Linked DNA regions of Homo sapiens: all the other regions are linked to region 4. Evidence: promoter capture Hi-C in 16 types of primary human blood cells and fetal thymus (Javierre and others, 2016). All regions are on one chromosome and are shown on one strand. Each heading gives the region's core, a stretch centred on a gene start or on the middle of the fragment in contact. The rest is flanking DNA. Distances are from core to core; before and after follow the strand shown.

Region 1 (2,700 bases), core at 78-2,577, 520 kb after region 4:
CTAATTTTGTATTTTTAGTAGAGACGGGGTTTCACCATGTTGGTCAGGCTGGTCTCGAATTCCTGACCTCAGGTGATCCACCTGCCTTGGCCTCCCAAAGTGCTGCAATTACAGGCATGAGTCACCACGCCTGGCCATGCCATAAATGGTCTTTTCCATTTAGCATTGTTGATTACGCTTTCAAAATTGGCCAGAGCTCTAGAGGGCTGCCAGACTGCACACTTAACACTCTGGAGGGGTGAGAGACCAGGAAGGGTGTTGTTAATCAGTTGTGGTAGGGCCTCCAGAAATGTATGCAACCTTCTCAAAGATTTATTTACCAGATCCAATGCCTATGGGTTTAGGCTTCTGGGCATGCTGTTTTGTTAGAATGTTGAACAACCCATGTGATAGGCAGGTAGAAGGAAAGCAGGTACGAGTGATGTGTGTGAACTGCTCCTCAGTGAAGACTGCATTTCCCTTCTATACACTACTCCACTGAAGCGGGCCTAGGCAACAATGGACAATCTAAGTATTTGCCCAAGATGCCACTTGCCTATCATCTTATTAGAATCAATGTGACTAAATTATCTCAGTCATAAAATGAAGATCAAAACCACCTTTACCTGGAGTGGGGGGACAGGAAACTCTATGACTCCAAGCTTCATGTGCCCTGGACTTGCATGGGAATGTCCAGAAAAAAAGCTGCTTCAAAACAAAATAAAATGCCTTTCTGTTGCTAGGATCTCATAAACCCACAGAATTTTAAGGCTAGCAAAGAGCTTTTCAGAAAATCACTTTCTTCCCAAGGTGCATCGGAAGCAGTTCCTCAGGCCCAATTAGTAGCAGGCTGTCAATACCCACTTCAAAACTGCCATTTCACAAAGGACATGCTTTTGTAAAATGGAATGTAAAATGTACCTCCATGGAATTGGGAGGAGGGGGGCAGGTATTATGTCTGGTTGAGGGATATGGAAGAGAAAATGTCACCCCATTTCCTCATCGATGATGTAGCTGGGGAATCCTGAATACCTTCCAGAATCCGCTGAGTTTTCACTTTATGGTCCCAGAAGAAAAACCCTTTTCCAAAGGATAGCGTACCCATTCCAGAAGGGAAAAACCAAAAAATTTCAAAGGAAGTAGAGTGAACTTTTGGCTGCCAAACAAAAAATGTTAACAGCCACAAGATGGCAGCAGAGGTAAGACTGTCAGAATCGACAAGGATTATACCCCTCAGCAAGGGTATACCCCCAGGTAAAAGCTATATAGTAAGGTCTATAAAACTATCATTAAAGTCACAGGCAAATGAGATAAATCATGTCACCTGCCCACTACCCTCCAAAAGTCAGAGTTAAAGTACAGTTTGAAGCTCTCAGAAGAGTATAAATTATTAGACAATTACATATAGGGGAAATCATACTGGTAGCATTAGTGTTAATATGGCATAAAAACAAGTATAGAATAACTTTAGGCTAACAGTCTACACAGGACATTCTACAAAGCAGTTCAGGGTTCCTGATGTCTAAAAGCTACGCAATCTTATTCCCATAAGGCTTCATTTTTTCATTTCCCAGGAGACTTTGAAGCCAGGAATTCTGGCTCATTGGCTTCTTAATTTATAATACCTATCTCAGAAGAATGAATGACATACCTATTTAATTCTAATTTAACCTGATATGAGTATTTCTCTAGGACTTAATATAAAGATTTTAAAAACTCACATTAATTGTATAAATTTTAAGTTCAATCAAATGGTCTTAAGGGCCCAGGAACAAACTTCTGACTTGAAAGGAACTTCATAATTTGCTGTACTGTATGCTGTAAGAACTAGGATATCCTAGCAGAACTAGGATAGCTTAATGACAGGTAGTAACTAGGGAACTAGGGAAAATGCACAAACTAAAAAATAGCACCCAGCTGTGCCTTTATTAAGACCCTCAATATCCTTTATTAAACTGGGTTCCTAGGTAAACATGAGTTAAAGATTAAGATGCCCGGAGTCAATTCCCTTACATGGTTTTGAGTGTGGAAGCAGAAGCTTCTATTGCCTAAATCTTAAAGGAGTTGACTATTTTGGCTGGATGATCCCAGGTGAGTTTTCCTTGTGCCCTGACGACCACTTTTCAGGTTACCTTAAAGGTGGCAGCTCCCAACATAGTAACTGAAGTCTAGCCTTTGTCCAGATAAAGCTCTGCCTTTATGTTTTAAAAGGAAACTAGGACTGCTTAGTCAAAGAACCCTAGGGAGCGAAGAACTATCGCACACTCATAGTTCCCTGTTATACCCCGGTCGAGATATATCACTTACACAGTGTGATGAATTCTTTCTGATTCTGGCAGATGAGAGGTCTGAGTCTCTGAGGTTTGGGGCTGTGTGGCAGCTGGTGGCTCTGCCTCTTCAGCTTCACACTTCTTTGGGCTCCCCTGTCAGGAGATAGCAAAAACGAACAGAGCAAAACATTTAGATCTGCTTGGTTCCTTTTCTTCTACCTGGAGCCTGAAAAAGGCAGGGCAGGACATACACAGTACCAGCTCCACACACGGCCCTCTGTATCTGTTATTTCATTTTAGAATAAGGAAAGGAACATGGCTTAAAAATAGGTACTTCAAGAATATTTATGCCAGTAATCATTTTATCAGAATTTTTAATTTTTTTCCTTTTCCTCAGTGATCCTTGTTCTGACAGAATTCTTTTTTGAGAGAACTGAGAAAAGGCTGACTT
Region 2 (2,926 bases), core at 272-2,771, 600 kb before region 4:
CTTGTCTGAAAAGAATTTTGTATTTCCTTTGCTGATAAAGCTTAGTGTGGTTGGCTATGAAATTCTTGTTTGGAATTTATTTTCTTTAAGGATGCTGAATATAAGCCCTTAATCTCCTCTGGTTTATGAGGTTTCTACTGAAAAGTTCACTGTTATCTTGATGGGGTTTCCTTAGTAGATGACCAGCCCCTTCCCTCTAGTGGCCTTTAATATTTTTTCTTTCCCGTTAACCTTGGAGAATCTAATGACGATGTGTCTTGGAGATGGTTGTCTTGTACAATGTCTTGCTGGGGCTCCCTGAGTATCCTGAATTTGAATGTTGACCTTCCTAGTGAGGTTGGGAAAATTTTTATGGGCAATATTCTCAAATATGTTTCCCAAGTTCCTTTCTCTTTCTCTCTCTCTTTCAGGGATGCCAGTGAATTATAAATTTGGTGTCTTTACATAATCCCATATTTTTCAGAAATTTTTGTTCATTATTTTTTATTCTTTTTTCTTTATTTTTGTCTGACTGAGTTGATTCCAAGAACTATTCTTTGACCTCTGAGATTCTTTCCTCAGCTTGTTGTATTCTCCTGTTAATACTTAACAATTGTATTATAAAGTTCTTGTAATGAGTTTTTCAGCTCTATCAGAACAGTTTGGTTCTTTCTTAAAATGGCTATTTTGTCTTTCAGATCTCATATTATTTTATTTCTTTACATTGTTTAGATTCCTTGGATTGGGTTTCAATTTTCTTATGAATCTCAATGTTCTTACATCCAAATTGTGACTGCTCTGTGTGTCATTTCAGCCATTTCAGCCTGGTTAACAACCATTGCCTGGGAGCTAGTGTGGTTGTTTGGAAGTAAGAAGACACTCTAGCTTCTTGAGGTGCCAAAGTTGTCGTGTTGGTTATTTATCATCTGTGTAGGCTGATGATCCTTTAATATTTGAAGTTCTTGTCCTTTGAATTTTTTTTTTACTTTTATATTATTTTATGCCCTTGAGGGATTTGACTGTGGAATAAGTTGCGTTCAGTCAACTGGCTTCATTTCTGGATGATTTCAGGGGTCCCGGGTTCAGATGAGCATTCCTGCACTGCATGCTCTAACCCTATGGGGTTGGGACCAGGCCCACTTCTTTGTTCTCTGGCCCCTTTAGGTTAAGTACCGACTGAACTGGAGGGGCTGAGGTGTTACTGGTTTGCTGACATCAACACTCCACTTGGGGGTGCTGGCAAAAGCACTTCATTGAACTTGTGGCAGCAGGATCAGGGCTCATGTACACCTGTGCCAGGGGCAATGGCGGGAGGGTGTGGATATGTGTCAGCAGTGGCCTGTCTGCAGAAGCTCTCTGATGGTTAGGCAGAGTTTGCTGGTGAAGTAGCTATGACACCAGTCACCAGGAAGTGCCCTGGTTGGACACCTAACGCAGAGTTGCAAGTAGGCATGGTCAGGTAGGGACCCTGGGAGAGGTCGGCAGACAAGGGGGTGCTCAGATCAGACTAGTCCTGACCCATGGGCAAGACACCTCTACTCTGTCCAGGTCTGACAGTCAACAAAGGCTAGAGCCACGTAGAGGAGCATGGTGCACCTTGGGGAATAGGCATCCCTACTGGGCTCACTGCCTCTATTCCCATGCTAAACACTCTGGGCTTCACACAGGCTAGAGTCCTGTCACTGCCAGCACTCCAAGTAGCTCTCCCTGCCAGCTCAAATTTCTATGGGCATCATGGGGTCTCCTGCAGTTAGGATTCGAGAGGTCCATGGGAGGAGTTAGCAAATGCTCACCTATCTAATTCAGCCTTTCCTCTGGAGACATTGAGCGTCATGAATGAGTCCCAGTGCTTGGCAGCCCTGTGCAGGGTTCCCGGGTTCCTCTCACTTTGGTCCAGGGTCTGAGTCTTGTCTCCATCCATTCTCAATGCATTCTTTCTGACGATACCCTCAGAGAATGCAAGTCTTCCTGATGGTCTGATCTCTTGGTAGGAGAAGCTCTTTCTAGCTGTGTCTAATTGACGATCTTGGAGCTCCTCTTCCTGGCTTTATTCTTAGTGTCTAGAATAATGACTAGCCCATAGTAATCGGTCAAAAATTCTACTGAGTGAATGAAGAATGAAATTTGTTTGGCCCTCCCCTCTTTCTCCCTTTTCCCTTCCTCTCATTCCCACTCTAGCAACTTTGACCTTTGTGTATGTTGTCTCTACTTCACTATGTGGGGCAGCTCAATTTTCTCTGGCCCTCACCCCCAGACTCAGAACCCAGTCTTTTTGTACTTAGTGGCTTCTGTCAAATAGATTCACTCAGGGCCTCAACCTTTCCTCACTTAATTGACCTCACCTTATCAGATGTGATGTGAAGGACTGAGTCAACTCTTAAGGCTAGTAACCCATAGCGAAATATCTAAAAGAAAAACGACATACTTAAAAGATGTTTGGAAAGTATAAAAGTAACTTCTCAAGCCTAATAATTATGAGCACATATCAAAGTTTTATTTCAAATTACTGCAAGAGAAAAAGCTCCTCAAGAAACAAATTCAAATAATTAGCCTTGGTATATTGTTACAGGAATCCAGATTTTTAAAAATCTGGTTAAAGATCATTATTGCATTCAAATGACGGTTGCATAATTACCCTGCTTTTGACTGCCTGTGTAGTGACTATTAGGCTTCTCACAAGATTAATGGTCATTTGAGTTTGTAACACTAATTTCCCAGAAGGAATCTTTATTTCATTAAAGGATATTAGAAAATTGCTCAAGCGTTTTATTAGAAGTGATGGTTAATTACCACATGGGGCTATGTATATTATATCCTCCGAAAAATGCCTGCTTCATACCAGTTTGGAGAAACTTACCTTTCTCAGCTATGTATGTTATATCCTTCATAAAAGGCCTGTTTCATACCAGTTTGGAGAAACTTACCTTTCTCATGTGTAATTTAAATC
Region 3 (2,778 bases), core at 129-2,628, 540 kb after region 4:
CACACACACACAAAACTATCAGCTTCTGTATAAGCAACGGTCTGCCAACTCAACCCTGGAGCCAACCCAGACCTAATCTGCACTACCTGCCACGTATCCTGTTGAACTCTAATTAAAACCAAGACATCCTCATCTTCCCTTCTTTAAACCAAACCTATACACTTGAATCGAGCTACACCTACCTCATGACAATCCCACCTTAATCTACTCAAACCGATTCAAAATCCCCAATATATATCAACCTGCCTCGCCTCTCTCACCAATATTCACCAAACTCTTAACCACCCAAATTGCCACTAGATGCCACTAAATTAGAGACCTCTCTCTCATCAAGTCCCTTCAAATAAAGGTCTCTCTTCATCTCACCTCCTCATCTAATCGAGCAGACATTTTACCCTACCCCAGTCCTATTCGTGCAGATACCGATACCAACCCCATCCACCCCTTCGCGCAACTATACCCCTAACTCCGACCCAGCCCAACTCGCCCCCCTCAGGCCAGCAACGCCGTAGGTTGTAGTGGGATTTAACTCCTTCTGCAGCGCATGCGCCGAAACCACAGATACAAACAAGGAGGGGGTGGGGGAAGGAGGAAGGAGCTTAAGACACTCCTGGAGAGTAGTGCACACCCTCCCATTTGGGCTCGCGCTGCTGCCGTTAAGGCGGGAACCGGCGCGATCTCCATTCCAGCGCGAACCTCATCAACCACCGTGCGCGCGGATCCAGAGGCTCGCGCTGGCGGCCTGAGCGAGCTCGCGCCGAGCCCGGATACTGCGCCTGCGCCGCGGCAGAGGCTCGTCTCTACCGGGTCCGCTCTCCTCCGACACCCCAGCAACGCCGACTCCTCACCCCTTTGAGCCGCTTGACCAGGGCACTCTTCTGCCCGCTCTTGGCTAGGCCTCGCTGCTCCAGTGCGGCCTTCAGGTCGGTCACCCGCAGCGCCTGAAGAGGCTTCCCGTCCAGAGTCACCTCCTCCAGCTCCGCCATCTTGCGTGAGGTACTCGGGTCCGTCCCGACGGCTTCGGGCATCTTCGGTAATTTCCGCCAACGCCCTTCGAACGTACCGAGATGACCCCGCCCACTGCCATACTCTACCCCTCGATTACCACTCAGAACTCCCCGGGTTCCTCCGGATGTCCTCGGATGTTTCCGTCTCCACATCGTTACCAATCAATTCTTTCCATCCGCCCTGCAGCGCCCCTTTTCTCGCCCTGCTTTCAGGCTCGGTTTTCTTCGTCTTGCCGAAGCTTTGAATCGAATATATTCGGAAACCCTCGACCCTGGTATAACCATAATCGGAGATGTTCGTTTATTTCCGGACCTAGAGATGAGGCGCTGGGGCGCTTGGGTGTTTGGGGCGGGTCCGAGGCCGGAAGTGCGTGGGCTGCCGGGCTGGCCCAGCTTAGGGTTTTCAGGAAATTTGGAAGCTGCCGCAGTAGTTGGAGTCTAAGGACTCGTGACAATCTTCGGGTGCCCTTCGAGAGAAAAGGGGAGGTAAGCGGGGTAGAAGTACCTCTATGGGCCGGGTCAGACTCGGTGTTTGCGGATTACCTTAATAGGGCAAGCCCCCCACTCCTTAACGCAAACAGCTTCTGCCCTCTGTCCTCTGAATCATAGCCACTCCCATCTTAGGCTTTTTTTGGGGAGGGGCGGGGGGCTGGTGCGGAATCGGAATAACAAGCTCCGTGGGGGTGCGCAAGAAGCATCGCCGTGTCTTCGGACCCAGACTATGAACTGATCTATGACGCTGAACTTGAGTTTGAGTTTGCCTTGGAAGCCATGTGGCAAGATTCTGGGAAAGTTCTTCCTTGCTCCGCAGAAGAGAGTAAGTTCCCTTGGAGGAACTGCTTCCTGTAGGGCAAGAACTGGAAAATGCAAGCGCCCTGAACTTTTTTGGTACTTGAACTAATATTAATTGTTTAGGGGCTTCTTTCTTTGTCACTACCAATCCTCCAACTTGATGCAGAAGAAACACAAACAGTAAAATAGGTCACAGACAAATAGTTTAGAGATTTAAGAGATACGTTAGAGATTTAAGAGACTGAAAACTATTAAAGTCAAATTGGCTGATCTTTCCGTTGCATTCATGATGCAAAATCAGTGGCAAGGTGCCGGGCGCGGTGGCTTACGCCTATAATCCCAGCACTTTGGGAGGCCGAGGCGGGCGGATCACTTGAGGTCAGGAGTTGGAGACCAGTCTGGCCAATATGGTGAAACCCCGTCTCTACTAAAAATACAAACAAATTAGCCGGGCGTGGTGGCGTACGCCTATAGTCCCAGCTACTCGGGAGGCTGAGGCAGGAGAATCGCTTGAACCCAGGAAGCAGTGGTTGAGATCACGCCATTGCACTACAGCCTGGGTGACAGAGCAAGACTCCGTCTCAAAAAAAAAAAAAAAAAAAAAAAAAATTGCAAGGCACCAATAGATACCATACTAAAAAAAAAAAAAAATTTTTTTTTTGTCACTCCACTCTGGGTCCCTCCACTCTGACGCAGGCTGGAGTGCAGTGGCGCGATCAGGGCTCACTGCAGCCTCAACCTCCCGGGCTCAGGTGATGCTCCTACCTCAGTCTCCTACGTAGCTAGGACTACAGGTAGGCACCTCTACGCTCAACTAATTTTTTTATTTTTTGTAGGGATGAGGTTTTGCCATGTTGCCCAGGCTGGTCTCGAACACCTGGGCTCAAGCGATCCTCTTGCCTCGGCCTCTCAAAGTGCTGAGATTACTTTGGAAGTGCAAGAACCACCGCGTCTGGCCCATACTAAATATTAAGGACAA
Region 4 (2,700 bases), core at 8-2,507:
TTAGTAGAGGAAGTGGTCAGGTGAGTCAATGCTTCACAGTTTTGCCAAGAGCTAAAGTAACTTGTCAAGAACTTCAGAACAAGGAAAGCCTGAGTGGTGGCCCCTTGCTCAGGGCAGCCCCCAGGCAGGCACACATCTATCCAACAAAGCCTGGAGGACAGGGACTGTGGTAAATCACGCAGGGTACCTGGGAGTCTGACCTCACTGTGTGACCACACTGAGGTCCAGAGCCAACAGTCACTTTATGTGGGTTCGCCTCAGTTTCTCCATGAGTCCTACTCTAAAACCCATCTACCTCCGTGAGCCATGTGTGGGAAGACGAGCTTCTGACTGGGATGAGTCTGGGGGAGCAAGCACATGGAGACCCAGTGCTGTCATTCTGGCTGCCGGAAGGCTGCAGGACCACCAGCGCCCTGCGTCTGTGTCAAGGCCACCTGGGCAACGCGGCGAGGGGTGGGGAGTGCAGGCCTCCTTTCACACAGAGACACACAGGCCTGAGGCCTCTCTGGGTAGCACACATAGAGCTATATTTTGCAATTAATAAACAGGTCAGACATTGAGTCAGTAGCCACAAGTAGAACAGGAAGTGGAAAAAGTCTCCCACTTCCCTCCAGGTGTTTGGGGGCTGGGGCGGTCCCCTCCCATTTCCATGACGTCATGGTTACCAAGAGGGGCAAGTAGGGCACCCTTTGAAGCTCTCCCGCAGAAGCCACATCCTCTGGAAAGAAGAGTTTAAAATACTGAGTTAGAGATAGCATCGCCCCAGGCCACGTGCCGAGGGGAGCAGGCTGGGCCGTTACACCACCCCCCAACCGCAGGTGCAGCAAGGCCAACATGCCAGGCTGGGAGGGGCTGCCGGCCCCTCGGTGACTTGCACCGGGCCCGCAAGCAGGCTGGGGAGGTGCTGCTGGCCCCACCGCTGAGCCGCCTCCCTCACCGCACCTCTGCTGCCCCTCCAAACCAGCCAAGATCAGACCTTGATCTCACCTGATTAAGCGCTTGCTTAGTACAGGGCAGACCCTCGAGACTTATGCTCAGGCCAGTGTCTCCTGGGAGGGAAGGAGGTGGGGAGGCCGTATTTGCCCCCACACAGAGCTAGGGCTGATTCTCTGAGGGACCCCCCCCCAATAGCACCTCCCCCCTTACCCTGATGCTTGTCCATTAGGTGATGGCCCTAATGGACGCCTTGATGGACACGTCCGGGACCCAGGGACCCGGAGACCAGGAATCTGCTGGTCTCAGGGAGCCGCAGAACCTGAAACCCAAAAATACCAGGCTTGATCGCCTGCTCTTCGGTAGTGTCGCCATCCACCCGCATGGGGGCAGCAGCGCTCCACCAAAAAGACCTCTTCTCCCTTTGTCTGTTAATTCTGGAGATAGAAAGCCCCCAAAGTTTAGGAAAAGCTCTTTTCCGAGGAAAATAAAAGGGCAGGTGACTTTTATCCCACAAGTCCCTGCCCTGTGCCCGTCACTGCGCTGGGCGCAAGGCCTGTGTCATCCTGTCACATCCCCCCCCAAAGGAGAGGAGGGCCTGGGGCCTGGGCCGGCAGCAGGGGGCGCTGTTCGTCCGGGATCGTCAGACCCGCTCCACCCGGAGCCCTGGAGGAAGTGCCCAGGGAGGGCTGGGGGCCCGGAGGAGGCCTTGGGTTCGGAATTAGGCTGGCTGGAGTCCGGGATCCACCACATCATACACTCGTGCCTTTGGCAGGTCACTAACCGCCCACCGCCTCAGTTTCCCGGTGGGACGAACTCTCTCTCACAGGTAGTTTAAGAACCAGGCTTTCTTTGGCATTGTATACCTGCCATGTGCCAGGCTGTGTCGTGCTCTGGGGATTCAGTCTCTGTGCAAACTATGACTCCATACAGATGAAGTCCAAGAACAGGCAAAACGCATCACAGGTGATAGAAATTAGGGCACTGTTTGCCTCTGGGGTAGAAGGATGGATTGAAAAGGGGCACGAGGAAACCTTCAGGGGTGGTGGAAATGTTCCATATCTTTATCTTGGGTGATGGCTATATATATATCAAATGCATCATTAGTGTATTTTCATGTAATTATGCCTCAAGAAAGTACTGCTCCCATTAAATACACACACACACACACACACACACACACACAGAGTTTCTGTCTTCAAGGAGTTAACAGTCCAGTGAGTAGTGGGTATGAAAGAGATGTGTTAATGGCTGCAATTGCAAGACAGAGGCTTTTGTTACTATATTCTCCTCAGGCAGGAGTCCTCAGGCAGGAGGCAGGAGAACCAGTTGTTTGTCCCTAAGCGTCACTGCCCCTCACTAGCCTTCTCTCCTGGGGCCTTTAATTTTTCTGAGTCCCCATGTGTTATTATTCACATAGAGATAAAAATACCTGCCCACCTATTCTCAGTGTTGTTGAAGGGATTGAAAGCAGTAATGGGTGTGGAATGCTTAGTAAACTGAAATCCCAGTGCAAATATGAAGTGGGAATGCATCAGAATGCCCAGGAAGACGAACCATGACCCGAACAAGATGGGCTGGGCCAGGTCAGATGGCACTGCCATACTGAGAAAAAAGTGGGCTGGCTGCGGCTTCACACAGCCCGGGAGAGCTCAGAACTCCCCAGGCCCTGCCGGTGCGCTGGTGTTTCTCATAGTATGTGGCCACCTCTCCAGTCACTTCGGCCCTAGGAGCTTCTTGTTACACCATGATTTTGTCACTACCTCC

What was found. The method cuts DNA at HindIII sites, captures the fragments that hold promoters and counts their contacts. A CHiCAGO score of 5 or more calls a contact.
Region 1: a fragment that was not itself captured here is called in contact with the fragment with the promoter of LINC02332 in region 4 in 1 of 17 cell types (total B cells); the score reaches 5.4 in total B cells.
Region 2: a fragment that was not itself captured here is called in contact with the fragment with the promoter of LINC02332 in region 4 in 4 of 17 cell types (naive CD4 T cells, total CD4 T cells, activated CD4 T cells and 1 more); the score reaches 10.6 in naive CD4 T cells.
Region 3: the fragment with the promoter of C14orf119 here is called in contact with the fragment with the promoter of LINC02332 in region 4 in 1 of 17 cell types (neutrophils); the score reaches 5.1 in neutrophils.

What each region holds. Positions count from the first base shown.
Region 1 is chr14:23,075,865-23,078,564 of GRCh38, forward strand. ACIN1 (apoptotic chromatin condensation inducer 1) reads right to left here. Exons shown (of 19, transcript NM_001386863.1): 8 at 2,287-2,402. LOC124903288 (a long non-coding RNA gene) reads left to right here and starts at 2,402. Exons shown (of 2, transcript XR_007064077.1): 1 at 2,402-2,700. RefSeq lists an enhancer at 2,528-2,700. The HindIII fragment of the contact is 1,376 bases long and covers 640-2,015 here.
Region 2 is chr14:21,957,631-21,960,556 of GRCh38, forward strand. It overlaps TRA. Among named protein-coding and RNA genes, the nearest start is that of OR4E1, 290 kb to the left of the region's middle. The HindIII fragment of the contact is 2,966 bases long and covers 39-2,926 here.
Region 3 is chr14:23,094,127-23,096,904 of GRCh38, forward strand. It overlaps C14orf119 (chromosome 14 open reading frame 119), which reads left to right and starts at 1,379. Exons shown (of 2, transcript NM_017924.4): 1 at 1,379-1,493. It overlaps ACIN1 (apoptotic chromatin condensation inducer 1), which reads right to left and starts at 1,010. Exons shown (of 19, transcript NM_001386863.1): 1 at 849-1,010. The coding sequence starts at 986. RefSeq lists enhancers at 751-1,060, 766-1,289, 1,101-1,180, 1,201-1,410, 1,290-1,813. The HindIII fragment of the contact is 5,470 bases long and covers 1,245-2,778 here.
Region 4 is chr14:22,555,805-22,558,504 of GRCh38, forward strand. LINC02332 (long intergenic non-protein coding RNA 2332) reads right to left here and starts at 1,258. Exons shown (of 3, transcript NR_146543.1): 1 at 1,147-1,258; 2 at 988-1,049; 3 at 507-718. It overlaps LOC105370399 (a long non-coding RNA gene), which reads left to right and starts at 762. Exons shown (of 2, transcript XR_007064066.1): 1 at 762-1,762. RefSeq lists enhancers at 304-403, 454-793, 1,654-1,863 and a silencer at 904-953. The HindIII fragment of the contact is 9,123 bases long and covers 1-2,700 here.